Linked DNA regions of Homo sapiens: region 2 is linked to region 1. The links are contacts of gene promoters, found by promoter capture Hi-C in human tissues and cell types (Jung and others, 2019). All regions are on one chromosome and are shown on one strand. The core of a region is centred on a gene start or on the middle of the fragment in contact, and the rest is flanking DNA. Distances in the headings are between cores, read along the strand shown.

What was found. The method cuts DNA at HindIII sites, captures the fragments that hold promoters and counts their contacts. A contact is called where the count stands out against the background at its distance.
Region 2: a fragment that was not itself captured here is called in contact with the fragment with the promoter of GFRA4 in region 1 in 1 of the 25 tissues and cell types used here (pancreas).

The regions. Positions count from the first base shown.
Region 1 is chr20:3,659,355-3,665,674 of GRCh38, reverse strand. GFRA4 (GDNF family receptor alpha 4) reads left to right here and starts at 2,276. Exons shown (of 6, transcript NM_022139.4): 1 at 2,276-2,321; 2 at 4,386-4,731; 3 at 4,811-4,920; 4 at 5,015-5,149; 5 at 5,426-5,517; 6 at 5,686-6,320. The coding sequence starts at 2,276. The coding sequence ends at 5,766. RefSeq lists silencers at 4,651-4,760, 4,851-4,900. The HindIII fragment of the contact is 25,120 bases long and covers 1-6,320 here.
Region 2 is chr20:3,615,334-3,621,653 of GRCh38, reverse strand. The region is part of intron 24 of ATRN (attractin); the gene reads right to left. Among named protein-coding and RNA genes, the nearest start is that of GFRA4, 45 kb to the left of the region's middle. RefSeq lists a silencer at 461-660. The HindIII fragment of the contact is 5,534 bases long and covers 758-6,291 here.

The DNA.
Region 1 (6,320 bases), core at 1,027-3,526:
GCTTGAACCCAGGAGGTGGAGGTTGCAGTGAGCTGAGATCGTGTCACTGCACTCCAGCCTGGAGCGAGACTCCGTCTCAAAAAACAAAACAAACAAAAAAATCAGCTTGCAATATAGAAGCTGGCTAAAACCCACCCAAACCAAGATGGTGATGAGAGTGACCTCTGGTCGTCCCCACTGCTACACTCCCACCAGCGCCATGACAGGTTACAGATGCCATGGCAGTATCAGGAAGTTACCATATATGGTCTAAAAAGGGGAGACATGAACAATCCACCCCTGTTTAGCAGATCATCCAGAAACAACCATAAAAATGGGCAACCAGCAGCCCTCAGGGCTGCGCTCTCTATGGAGTAGCCATTCTTTTATTCTTTTACTTTCCTAATAAATGTGCTTTCACTTTATGGACTCGTCTCAAATTCTTTCTTGCACGAGATCCAAGAACCCTCTCCTGGGGTCTGAATCTGGACCCCTTTCCGGTAACAGATGTCGTAGAGTGAAGCACAACCACTGCAGGGGCATCTTGGTTTACATTTTGCTTCAGCGGCCATGGTTAGCACAGCGGAAAGCACATCACAGTCTTCTGATTCATTAAAAAAATTAGGAAATGGACCACCACAAACCACAGACAGATGTACTGAGACAGGATAGGTAGTCAAGAAAGTGACCATGTTCTAGGCGCGCAGCAGCAACTGTGGTGACCGTACAGTCAACAAGCCTCAGCACTGGCATTGCAATTGAGCTCATTCAAGCAAAGCTATCTTCAGCAGGGACTTCTCCCTCTAGGCAGCAAGCGCATTTTTATTTTACCTGTCCTCAAACTGATCCTTTGCTCCTTATAATAGTAAGGAACACACCCCTGTGTGGAGATTTAAGATGCTAATGAGGCCAAGCGCAGTTGCTCACGTCTGTAATTCCAGCACTTTGGGAGGCAGAGGTGGGCGGGTCACTTGAGGTTAGAAGTTCGAGACCAGCCTGGCCAACATGGTGAAACCTTGTCTCTACTAAAAATACAAAAATTAGCCGGGCATGGTGGCGGGCGTCTGTAATCCCAGCTACCTGGGAGGCTGAGGCAGAAGAATCGCTTGAACCTGGGAGGCGGAGGTTGCAGTGAGCCAAGATCGTGCCACTGCACTCCAGCCTGAGGGAGAGAGAGAGCAAGACATCGTTTTTGTTTGTTTGTTTGTTTGTTTGTTTGTTTTTTAAAAAAAAGTCAAGACAAATCATAGTGGGGGCTTTTCTGGTCACTTTTTAAATCTTAGTGTTGAGACTTTATTTGAGACAGGGCCTTACTCTGTTGCCCAGGTTGGATGAGATTTTTAACCTCAATATTTACTTATAGAATAACTTTTTGGTTAGTCAAAACAATGCTGTGTCTCATTCTGATCAGAATAAAACATCAGACAACTCAAGAGAAACATTCTGCAAAATAACTGGCCAGGATTCTTCAAAAGTGTCAAGGGTAAAGATAAGGAAAGATGAAGGAACTCCCAGATTGAGGAGAATAAGGAGACAACTGTGATGTGGGATCCTAGAATGGATCTTGGAACAGAAAAAGGACATTAGTGGAAAAATGAGAAATGCAAAACAGTCTACAGTTTCGTTAACAGGATTGTACCAAGGTTAGTTTCCTAGCTGTAATGATTGGACTATGATTAAGTAAGATGGACCATCAGGGGAAGCTGGGTGAAGGGTGTAAGGAAAATGCTTACATTTTCCAACTTTTCTGCAAGTCTAAAATTAGTCAACAATAAGAAGTTTAAAATAGGCCAGGCATGGTGGCTCACACCTGTCATCCTAGCACTTTGAGAGGCCGAGGTGGGAGGATGGTTTGAGCCCAGGAGTTCAAGACCAGCCTGCGCAATAGAGCGAGACCCCAACTCTATTCAAAAAAATTTTTTTAAGTTTAAAATAGAATTATATAAAAAAGGAAAAGAAAAATGCTGTTTCATAGCGTTCCTAGTTTAGCATGGGAGAGACCAGGTCTCCCTGGGTGGTTGTCTGTGTGTTGCTGGGTGTGCGTGGCAGGGCTAGTGTGTTGGGGTCCGTCTAGGCACATTCAGGCGCCGAATCCCGTGGCTCCCAGGTTTACCTGACGGTGCAGCCTGGGGTGGAGACTTAATGAGGGCGGGGAGTTGCTGCAGCAAAGGCTCCTCCCAGGGGTATCAGCGCAGACAGCTGGGTTTTCACTGTGCTCCTGCTCCAGAGGCACTAGGAAGGGGGCGCCTATCAGACTAGGGCTCTGCCAGCCATCCTTCTCTGTTGAAGGTCCAGCATGGTCCGCTGCCTGGGGCCTGCGCTGCTGCTGCTGCTGTTACTGGGTGAGCGCCCCTCTCTTCCCCTGGACCCCGAACCCTGGCCTCTCTGTCCCTGCTCCTCAGTGACAAGGTGGGAGGGCAAGATATTCCAGGAAAAGCTGAACCACAGGAAGGGTTGCCAGTGAGAGGCCTGTGCGCACGGCTTGGGGACCCCTGGCAATTGACCCCACTATGTGCTGAGCACCTCACCTCCCAGCCCCGTCAAGCCACCACCGCCATCCCCCTCCCGAGTCCAGCCTTGGCACCCGTGCCCCAGGAACTTTTGCCTATTGTCTGCCATCTCCCAACTCTCTCACCCTCCCCTCAGCCCCAGCCCTCCTACCCATCACACAGATTCCTTGGTGAATCTTCGGTGTTGTTCATCTGTTGTTCCACCTTCTTGGACTGCTCCGTCCCTGCATGGATGTCGCGGAGGGAGGGGTCACTTTACCGAGTGTAGTGTGGAAAGTGGAATCTGGTAAAGGTTTAAGGTGGAGGAGATCTTGCAGCTGAGATGAGCTGCTGTGAGGGTGGAGACTGGGTAAGGGTGTTCTGGGCAAGGGTGACAGGTAAGCAACAGGCAGAGGTGGGTTCAAACCCTTAGGCAACATCAGGTGCTGGTGTGTGCAGCTGAGACCTGAGGATGTGCCTGGCAAGGCTGTGAGAGGAAAGCAAAGTGTGCCCTTTGGGGAGGGGAGGAAGGGAGGACTCACCCCGCTGCCATCTATCCCCTCCACTCAGGGACCATTCTAAGCCCTCGAGCTATGTTCATCCTTCCTGCAGAGGCAGGTGCTGAAGTCACAGCAGGAATCACTCTCACCACGCGGTCCAATCCACAGCCTGAAAGACACAGCCATTGCCAGAGAGGCACCCTGCTCCCAGCCCTGGGGGGGGGATACCACCCCGTAGCCCCTGTGCACAAACACACAGGGAGATGGATGAGGGGCCAGGCTGTGCACGTCCACTCAGGCTGGGCACCAGAAAGGCTTCTAGTCTGAATGAGATGCTCCAGACTGGAGAACTTGTGGAGGCTGGGGGGGATTCGATTAGCCTGGTTTTTGTGACTCAAATCCTGGGAAGGGGCTGCCAAGTCCCAACTTCCAGTTATCCTGGCTCTATTTAGACACAGCCTGTGGGCATGTGGGCAGAGCTCACCCTCTGTCTACCCAACCCCTGGTGTGTGACTGGGGTGCCAGGCACCTTCTCTGTCTCCAGCAGGGTGTCACCTATCATGGGGCCTGGTCACTAAAACCACTGATGAACCCTTGGGTCCTGTGGCTCAGGACAAAGCCCGGCGGTGTGTCGTCAGGGACTTCTCTGAATCCACACCCTGGCAGCCAGGACTCAGTGGGTTCTTCAGTGGCCAGAGCTCTTGCATGAATCCGCTCTCCCCTGGCTGATGAAGGGTGGAGGGGCTGGAGGAAGCCAGTGCAGATGGGGCAGGATGACCTCGACTCAAGGGAGCATCAGGAAGGGCTGGAGAGGGGAGACACCCATGCAGGGGGCAGGAGGAGGAGCAGGAGGTCAGGAAGGAGGGAGAAACAGAAATCAATAGACCCACCCAAAGGGTCTCCATGGTGGAGGATAAGCGGCGAGGTGGAGGGGGTAGAGGAGGAAAGGTATGGCGTCACAGCCTGTCATTAAGAGACTAGGAGCAGCCACTGTCTTCTATGCCATCTCTGGTTTTAAAGTCTCCATTGGCCAGATCCCCAGAAAGCCTCATTGTTCCCCCGTCAGGTAGTGCCATTGAGTGTAGGAGGAGCCCCTGGACCCGTCTTTGGACGTGTGTGGCCGTTCTGGAGAAATGGTGGCGATGCTTGGGAAGGAGGGGCTTCAGCTTTTGGGGAAGGCCTGGCTCAGCCTCCATGCTCCCTCTCCATCCCTGACGTGTTGCAGAGCCCTCCAGAGCCCGCCGCTGCCCATCCCCACGACGGAGAGCCGATCAGTGCCAGTCGGCCCCGCCTTTGGGCCACACTCTATGCTTTCTCGGGTTTTCAGTGTCCCCCACCTTCCAGGGGCGTGGATGGGCTGGGTGAAGTGTGCATGCGGGGCGCACTGAGACCTGCAGCCTCCCCGCGCCTTTCCCAGGGTCGGCGAGCTCGGTCGGAGGGAACCGATGTGTGGACGCGGCCGAAGCCTGCACGGCGGACGCGCGGTGCCAGCGTTTGCGCTCCGAGTATGTGGCGCAGTGCCTGGGCCGGGCTGCGCAGGGGGGCTGTCCCCGCGCCCGCTGCCGCCGGGCCCTGCGCCGCTTCTTCGCCCGCGGGCCGCCCGCGCTCACCCACGCACTGCTCTTCTGCCCGTGCGCGGGCCCCGCGTGCGCCGAGCGTCGGCGCCAGACCTTCGTGCCCTCCTGCGCCTTTTCGGGGCCCGGCCCCGCGCCGCCCTCCTGCCTTGAGCCCTTAAACTTCTGCGAGCGCAGCCGGGTCTGCAGGTGCGCGCGGGCGGCGGCGGGGCCGTGGCGAGGGTGGGGACGGGGCCTCTCTCCGGCTCACCGCCCTCCCGCCGCGCAGGCCTCGCCTCCTGGCCTTTCAGGTCTCGTGCACCCCAGCGCCCAGCGCCCCCGACGGCTGCCTGCTGGACCAGGGCGCCCGCTGCCTGCGCGCCTACGCGGGCCTCGTGGGTACGCGCGGCCGGGATCCGGGCGAGGGCGGGGGTTCTCCAGGGGATATCTCCGCCCGGGTGGGCCGATGACTTCGCCCTCAGGGTCCCCGCAGGCACCGCCGTCACCCCTAACTACGTGGACAACGTGAGCGCGCGCGTGGCGCCCTGGTGCGACTGCGGAGCCAGCGGGAACCGGCGTGAGGACTGCGAAGCCTTCCGGGGGCTCTTTACCAGGAACCGCTGCTTGGGTGAGGGGCCCGGGGGGGAGTGGAGGGGGAGTGGGGGCGGCGCTTACTGCCCCCTCCCAAGCCGCCTGGCTGGGAGCCATTTTAGAGGGGAGAATGGAAGACTGTACAGTTGAGTCACTCTGTCACAGCTGTGCTTATTATTTTGTTATTCCTCACCACACACCTTCTGTCCAAGGAGCCAGTCTTTGCAGCAGGGGGTCTCTCACTTTGTCCCCTGTGCTGAGCCCTGTGCTAGGGTTTCCCAGCTAAGTCCACCCTGGACCCCTCCCTCCATAGATGGTGCCATTCAGGCCTTTGCCAGCGGGTGGCCCCCAGTCCTGCTGGACCAGCTGAACCCCCAGGGAGACCCGGAGCACAGCCTCCTGCAGGTAGGTGCAGGGAGGGGAGGGTGAGCTGGCACCTCCCCCACTGTCACCTTCACACCCTTCCGTCCCTGGTGGGCCTGGGTGGAGGCATGAAGGGCCTGGGGTGGGGGTGCAGGCAGAGGGCAGAGACAGGCTTTTGCCTCAAGTCTGCACTTGGCTCCCACCCCCAAGGTGTCCTCCACAGGCAGGGCCCTGGAGAGACGCTCCCTGCTCTCCATACTTCCTGTCCTGGCTCTCCCGGCCCTGCTCTGATTAGGACAGCGACCTCGGATAGCACAGCCAGCTACTCCACCCTGCCTGCCTGGGCCGCCTCTGTGGCCTACTGGCCCCTTGAGAAGGGGCTGGCTTACCCCCCAAGCCGGCCCTGGTGCTTTCACTCCGCTGCCCTTTGTAGGTTTGGACACCCTGTGTGCCGTCCCCTGGGGCAAGGGATGTAGGCTGGGGCCTGACTGTAAAGCCCCCGTCTCCCTGTCAGGAGGCATCTTGGTTGTAAGTCCCTTTATTCACAGACCTTGAGACCACTGGGGTCTCCCACAAGGTGGGGTCAGGAGAGGGTCACTTTTGTAGCTGAGACCTCTCTGGAGACCCAGATCCCCTAGAGCAGGTCAGAGACCATCCAGAATCCCAGAATTCTAGGAAATTGTATCAGCCTCCCAAGCATATAACCCCCTAAGGAATCCATCGGACAAGACCCCGTCTAACACTGCATCCTCCCAACTGGGCATTACCCACCATTGTAGCCACCTGTGCGCCATGACCATGCTGGCAGAGTCTTTCCTGTTCCCCATATGCTGCTTGAGGGGCCC
Region 2 (6,320 bases), core at 2,275-4,774, 45 kb after region 1:
CCTATATAAAAATCTATTTTAATACAAAGAAGAAATTCTTATTTTATAAATAAAACTCATAATGTCATTCTTCTCTGTTTCCAAACAGTAGACACCATACTCCACACTCCAAGAAACCTAGAATTCACGTCCTACGACTTCCACAACCCAATTCCAACTCCACTTTCATCAATATGTCTAAGGTGTATCTGCCCCATGGGCCTTCTGGATGTGTTCATCAATTCTGAAAAACTCTGAACTCGGAAGCTCAGTGAGCCCCAGGGTTTGGGGTAAGATATTACGGACCTGCACTTCCTCAATCACTAATGTTGCACTTCAGCCAAAAGTGCTTCCGCTCACTCTACTACTGTACTACTGTACCTGACGGCAGATGTCACCAGAGAGCCTCCCTGCCTGTGTGCATGGGGGTCCTCCCTGTCCTTTCTGGCTCAGCACATCACTGCCTCCGTTTTTAAGCATCCCCGGCCCCACTGGAAACTCTGGCAGGCTCTCCTCTACGCTCCCTCACCATTGATCTGCTTCCCTCTCAGGGCGTGTGATAATTATGGTCTATATAGGGGTGTCCAATCTTTTGGCTTCCCTAGGCCACACTGGAAGAATTGTCTTTGGCCACACATAAAATACACTAACACTAACACTAACGATAGTGCTGATGAGCTTAAAAAAAAATAAAATAAAAAAATCATGTTTTAAGAAAGTTTATGAATTGTGTTGGGCTGCATTCAAAGCCGTCCTGGGCTGCATGTAGCCCGCGGGCCATGGGTTGGACAAACTTGGTCTACCATATACCATGGCTGTGTAAAGACAGACATCCTGAGAAGAGGATTCCTGCATTCTTCTGTCTATGAAGACACCAATTCCTAACTTTTAAATTACTGTTGTAGAAGAATGAATGAAAAGGTAACTTCCTACCTCCCATACAAGAGCAGATACACTTTTGTATTCCAAGAACTAGGCCATGGCTCTCAAACTCTGGATAGCTTACAACAAAGTCAGAATCTCAGGCCCTATCCCTGTCTCTATATCTTTAAGCTCCTCCAGTGATTCTGATGCTAGTCTCCATAGGCCACACTTCAGGAAACTCTGAAGTAAGAAATTATTTAAACATCAGGCTGGATGCAGTGGCTCACGCCTAATCCCAGTACTTTGGGAGGCTGAGGTGGGTGGATCACTTGAGGCCAGGAGGTCGAAACCAGCCTGGCCAACATGGCAAAACCCCATTTCTACTAAAAATACAAAAATTAGCTGGCGTGGTGGTGTGCACCTGTGATCCCAGCTACTTGGGGGGCTGAGGCACAAGAATTGCTCAAACCCAGGAGGTGGAGAGGTTGCGGTAAGCCAAGATCGCACCACTGCACTCCAGCCTGGGTGACAGAGCGAGACTGTCTCAAAACAAAACAAAACAAAACAAAACAAAACAAAACAAAACAAAACTCCTCCTGTGCTCCTTTCCCTGGACAATTTCTTTAGCATTTCAGGAACTGCATTGAAAAAAAAAAATCCTCGCCTTTAATTGGAAGGTTAAATCCCCATAATTAGTTTGGCTCTTTTGGGGAGTGGGAGGGAGATGGGGAAGGATAAGGGTAGAGGAAGAGAGGACAGTGCTTTGAAACAAAAGGAGAGGCAGGGCCCAAACCTGGAGGCAGGGAAAGGGAGGGAATGGAGGGGAGGTTTTGCATTCTGAAAGTGCCTGGGAATGTAGGGTGTCCTTGTGGCAGGCTAGGGAGGCTCTGGTGCTTAAGTGTCATTCTATGTCCAAGCCTGTGCCACACAAGAGTGAGGATGCTGCCCTCAAGAGTGAGGGGCCAGGGAATCGGGCGCAGCAGTCAGCGACTGAAGATCAGACCAGGGGACCTTCCCCAACCTCTGAGCTCAGTTCAGCCCTGAGGTTTCTGTATGTTCCTGAGGGAAGAGAATGGGTCTCTGCCAAAACAGAGGCTGAGAATGAATTTCTAATTAAGTATGGTGGGTAGAACCTGAGTCCAAGATTACCATAAAAATATGGAAGCATGGCATTTCTTATATTCCACTACCACATAACAAATGCTTTCCATTTTAAAAATGATTGTATTTTTGCATCTACTATGTGCCATCCACAAAGAAGGTACTCAAAAACTTGAATAAATGGATGAATGAATGAATACTGAATGACTAGGAAAAGTCACTGTTTAATACAGCAGATTTGAAAAGAGAGAAGAAAGGACCTTTCATTGGCCTCTGGCCTCATTCAGGACTTGCGTTCTGGTCGGAAGGATAAAACTGGCATTTCTAAGTCAATACCAGAGTTTCCTTTTCAGAAGGTAAGACACCGTGGTGCAGAACTAATTACACTTTATGTAGCACTCATCTAAGTCTACTGACCATATGCTGTGGAACCATGGACTGCAGAAAGGGCTGCATTATTTCTACCATGGAGATGTCTATCTATCCATTATCATGAGCACACAAGACAGGGAGAGGAAGAGAAAGGACAGCTGGCCACCCTGTGAGGTGAAGTCTTTCCGCTTCAAGGCAGCACCTGTCAGGCTCCGAGAAAACGCAAGGTATGTATGTACTGGGCAGAATCTCCGCAGGCTCCCAACGACCCCCTGGGACCAGCGGCCCCACCAAGGGTGAGAGCTCAGCCCAGAAGGAGCCCATGTGCTCCTCTATTCTCCTTGAGGCCTCTACTCTTCTTGGCTTTGCAAAGGATGGAAGATTCCGTGAGCCCTGGCTAAGTACATTCTAACCTGGGTCTTGTGCTGTCACCTCCTTGAGTTTGGCTGTGACATAAAACAACTCTTCCTTTTTTCTTAAAAAACGAAACAAAACCACCACCACCACCAAAGTTCATACATGGAACTCTATGTCAAGACCACAGCTCTGGACCAGATCCATATGACCATCACCCGGCCTCACACACCACGCACCTAATGCTGGTTTGTGCTGGCACAGAAACTGTATACCCAAGCTCTGGTCAGAGCCCCATGGCCAGTTAATGCCATTCAGCCACTCATTCCTGCCATGCAAACGAACACTCACCATCTGTCTGCTCCCAACCTCCCACCTCAATACTGCTCTGTGCTTTCTTTCCCTAATTTTCTCCTAGCAATTCCTTTTGACCATTCTCCAGAATTCCTATTCTATCACACTCATTAACAATTTAGAAATCATTAGAGAACTACATACTTAGCTGAAATATCAAAAGGTACTGAAAGGCTAGTCATGAAAAGCAATGTTCCCTGCTCTTCCTCTGCTCTTCTGAAGGCTTCTCTCCAGGGACCCCCACCTTGAACTAGGTTACTTTTCAGTTCTTCTGGCAGTTGCCTTTTTATCATTAATGTTTTTATTGTTATTTCCTGATCTATCCATTTTAGGCATCACTTTAACCAACCTCTTACTGAAACAGAAGGTGATTTTGGTCATCAGCCCCGCCCCTCCCTCCAGTATATATCACTGCTCTTAGTGCCTCTGTTAGTTCCTGTGCCATTATCCTGAGGGTGACAGTGATGGAAAGATGCCACCACAGATAGGAAGTGGACATGACTCTCTGGGATATGGGGAGACGATGTGCCTGTTACCCACACACAGCTACAAGATCAGAAGACAATGCAGCCATAGCCCACTGAAGGGCGGCTTCCCAGGCCCCACAGGGAGGAGCCCTCAGACCCTGATGCACCTGTGCGTCGGGGTGAAGGCAGGAGGCTTGCTGGGAAGCTCCGTTTTCCATTCTCACCAAGACAGGTGGGCTGGTTTGAGGGAGAGGGAGTTTTGCCCCTGACCCCTGAGTGTTCTAGAGACTGTCCACTGTTAACTGGTAAAACCCCCGTACAATGCTGTGTACTTCCTGTAAAGGCGAACAGAACTTCAGCTCCAGGGTGCACTATGCTCCAGGCCCGCCCAGCAGAGGCATGCTCCTGTAGCTGTCTGTAGGAGGCCAAATCATATACTCATACCTTTATTTCTTCTTCTACCACCTGTATTATTCTTTTCATTGTGTAATTTTTTTTCTTTTTTAGTAGGGATGGGGGTCTCACTATATTGCCCAGGCTGGTCTCGAACTCCTGGCTTCAAGTGATCCTTCCGTCTCAGGCTCTCAAAGTGCTGGGATTACAGACATGAGCTACCATGCTCAGCTTCTTTTTCATTTTGGAAAATCTTAAGCTTTTTAAAAAGTAGAAAGAGCACTATAATGAACCTCACACGCTCATCATCCTGCTTTAGTAAATTATCAGCTCAAGGCCAACCTTGTTTCATCCACACTACACTTACTTTCCCTATGATCATATTATTTTGAAGCATTCCCCAGACCCAATCATTTCCCTCTTAACTATTTCAATATTGACAGGAGCACTGAACTTTCTTCTTTGTAAAATTTGGATGTTTATGTCCTCAGCCCTCCCTTTTCTTCTATCTTCTAACTCTCTGGACAAAATTCTAACCAACAACAATCCAATCTTCTAACTCCACGCTGTGTAGACTGAGATAACAGATTCTTGGTTGCCAACCTCAGCCAGCCCATAGCACTGGTCAGCAATTGTTCTGACAATATCAGAAAAAGGTGTCGGCTCCTTTATAAAAGTTATAAAAGTTGTAAAAAAGAAAAAGTTCTGATACCTACCGTAAAGCCCTTATACTAACAACTATATACTCATCTGGCATACATTTAGGGAGTATCTCCAACTGATTAGCACATGACACTGAGGACACTGAGGGATAAAAATGCGATCCTTGCCATTAAGAAATCTTCGTATAGTGGAAACAGACACTCTGCTGTGGAGGTGCAGAGGAGGAAAGGAAGTTGCTATGGGATGTGTGTCATCAGATGGTCCCCTTCCCTGGGTTTCTACACAAGAATTCCACCTGGACTCCCTGGACTCCTGGACCTCCTAAGTCCTCCCAGGACTTAGGCCTGGCTCCTTCCAATCCACACTCCCAACTGCTGCCAGTGGGGTCTTTCTAAACACTGATCGTCGGTGACTTTTCGGCCTAAAACATCTCAACAATTCCCAGTCACATCAGGACTCAAGTTCACAGCCTGCAATCTCCAGTCTCTTCATAATGGCCCTCCCCAGCTCTCCACCTTCTTGCTCATAGCACTGTCACCAGCTCTGCTAAACTCCTGGTAGTTCCTGAAAGGGCTGGTCATTTCCTTTCCCCACCACGAACACCCCCTTCCCCCGCCCCCATGCTCCTTAGGAATCAGCTCTGGTGTGATCTCTCTTAACTTGGACTCAGGTGACACAGGGCACTCCCCTCCCCTCTCATGGCTCCCAGGAATGCATGGGCACACCTCCAACACCGAGCTTCTAACGAGGTGCCTGCTGTCCACTCACAGCTGCTGCTCTGGGCCAGAAAGTCTGCTGGCTGAATGAATTTTAAGGAAGTCTAGTGGGTTCCTGGCTCTGGAGATCACAGGAGAGAAGTCTGCTAGAGACAAAGATTTACCTGTCCAGCCAAAGGCAATGTTCCCAGATGGTGTGGATGAGATTGCCCAGGGAAAAAGAGTCCAGATGAAACCCAAGGGAACAATAGCATTAAAGAGCTGACAAGAGACAACCAAAGCGAAAGCTGAAAAGCAGGGGACTTTCGAGACAAAGGAATAACACATTTTTCTTTTTTTTTTTTTTAATTATACTTTAAGTTTTAGGGTACATGTGCACAACATGCAGGTTTGTTACATATGTATACATATGCCATGTTGGTGTGCTGCACCCATTAACTCGTCATTTAACATTAGGTATATCCCCTAATGCTATCCCTTCCCCTTCCCCCCACCCCACAACAGGCCCTGGTGTGTGATGTTCCCCTTCCTGTGTCCATGCGTCCTCATTGTTCAGTTTGCACCTATGAATGAGAACAAGCGGTGTTCAGTTTTTTGTCCTTGCGATAGTTTGCTGAGAATGATGGGGGCAACATGGTAAAACCCTGTCTCTACTAAAATACAAAAAATTAGCTGGGCGTGGTGAAGTGTTCCTGTAGTCCCAGCTACTCGCAAGGCTGAGGCACGAGAATCACTTGAACCCAGGAGGCAGATGTTGCAGCGAGCCAAGATTGCACCACTGTACTCCAGCCTGGGCGACAGAGTGAGACTCTGTCTCCAAAAAAAAAAAAAAAGAAAAAAGAAAAAAGAAAAGAATTAAACTGTACTTAAAAGCATGTGTCTTTCTTTGTTTCAAACTATATTTAAGGTTCTTGTACAGCCTTGTGGGTTTCATCATAAAGAAAAATTTTTTTTTTTTTTGGAGACAGGAGTCTTGCTCTGTCGCTCAGGCTGCAGTACAGTGGTGCAATCTTGGCTCGCTGCAACATCTGCCTCCTGGGTTCAAGTGATTCTTGTG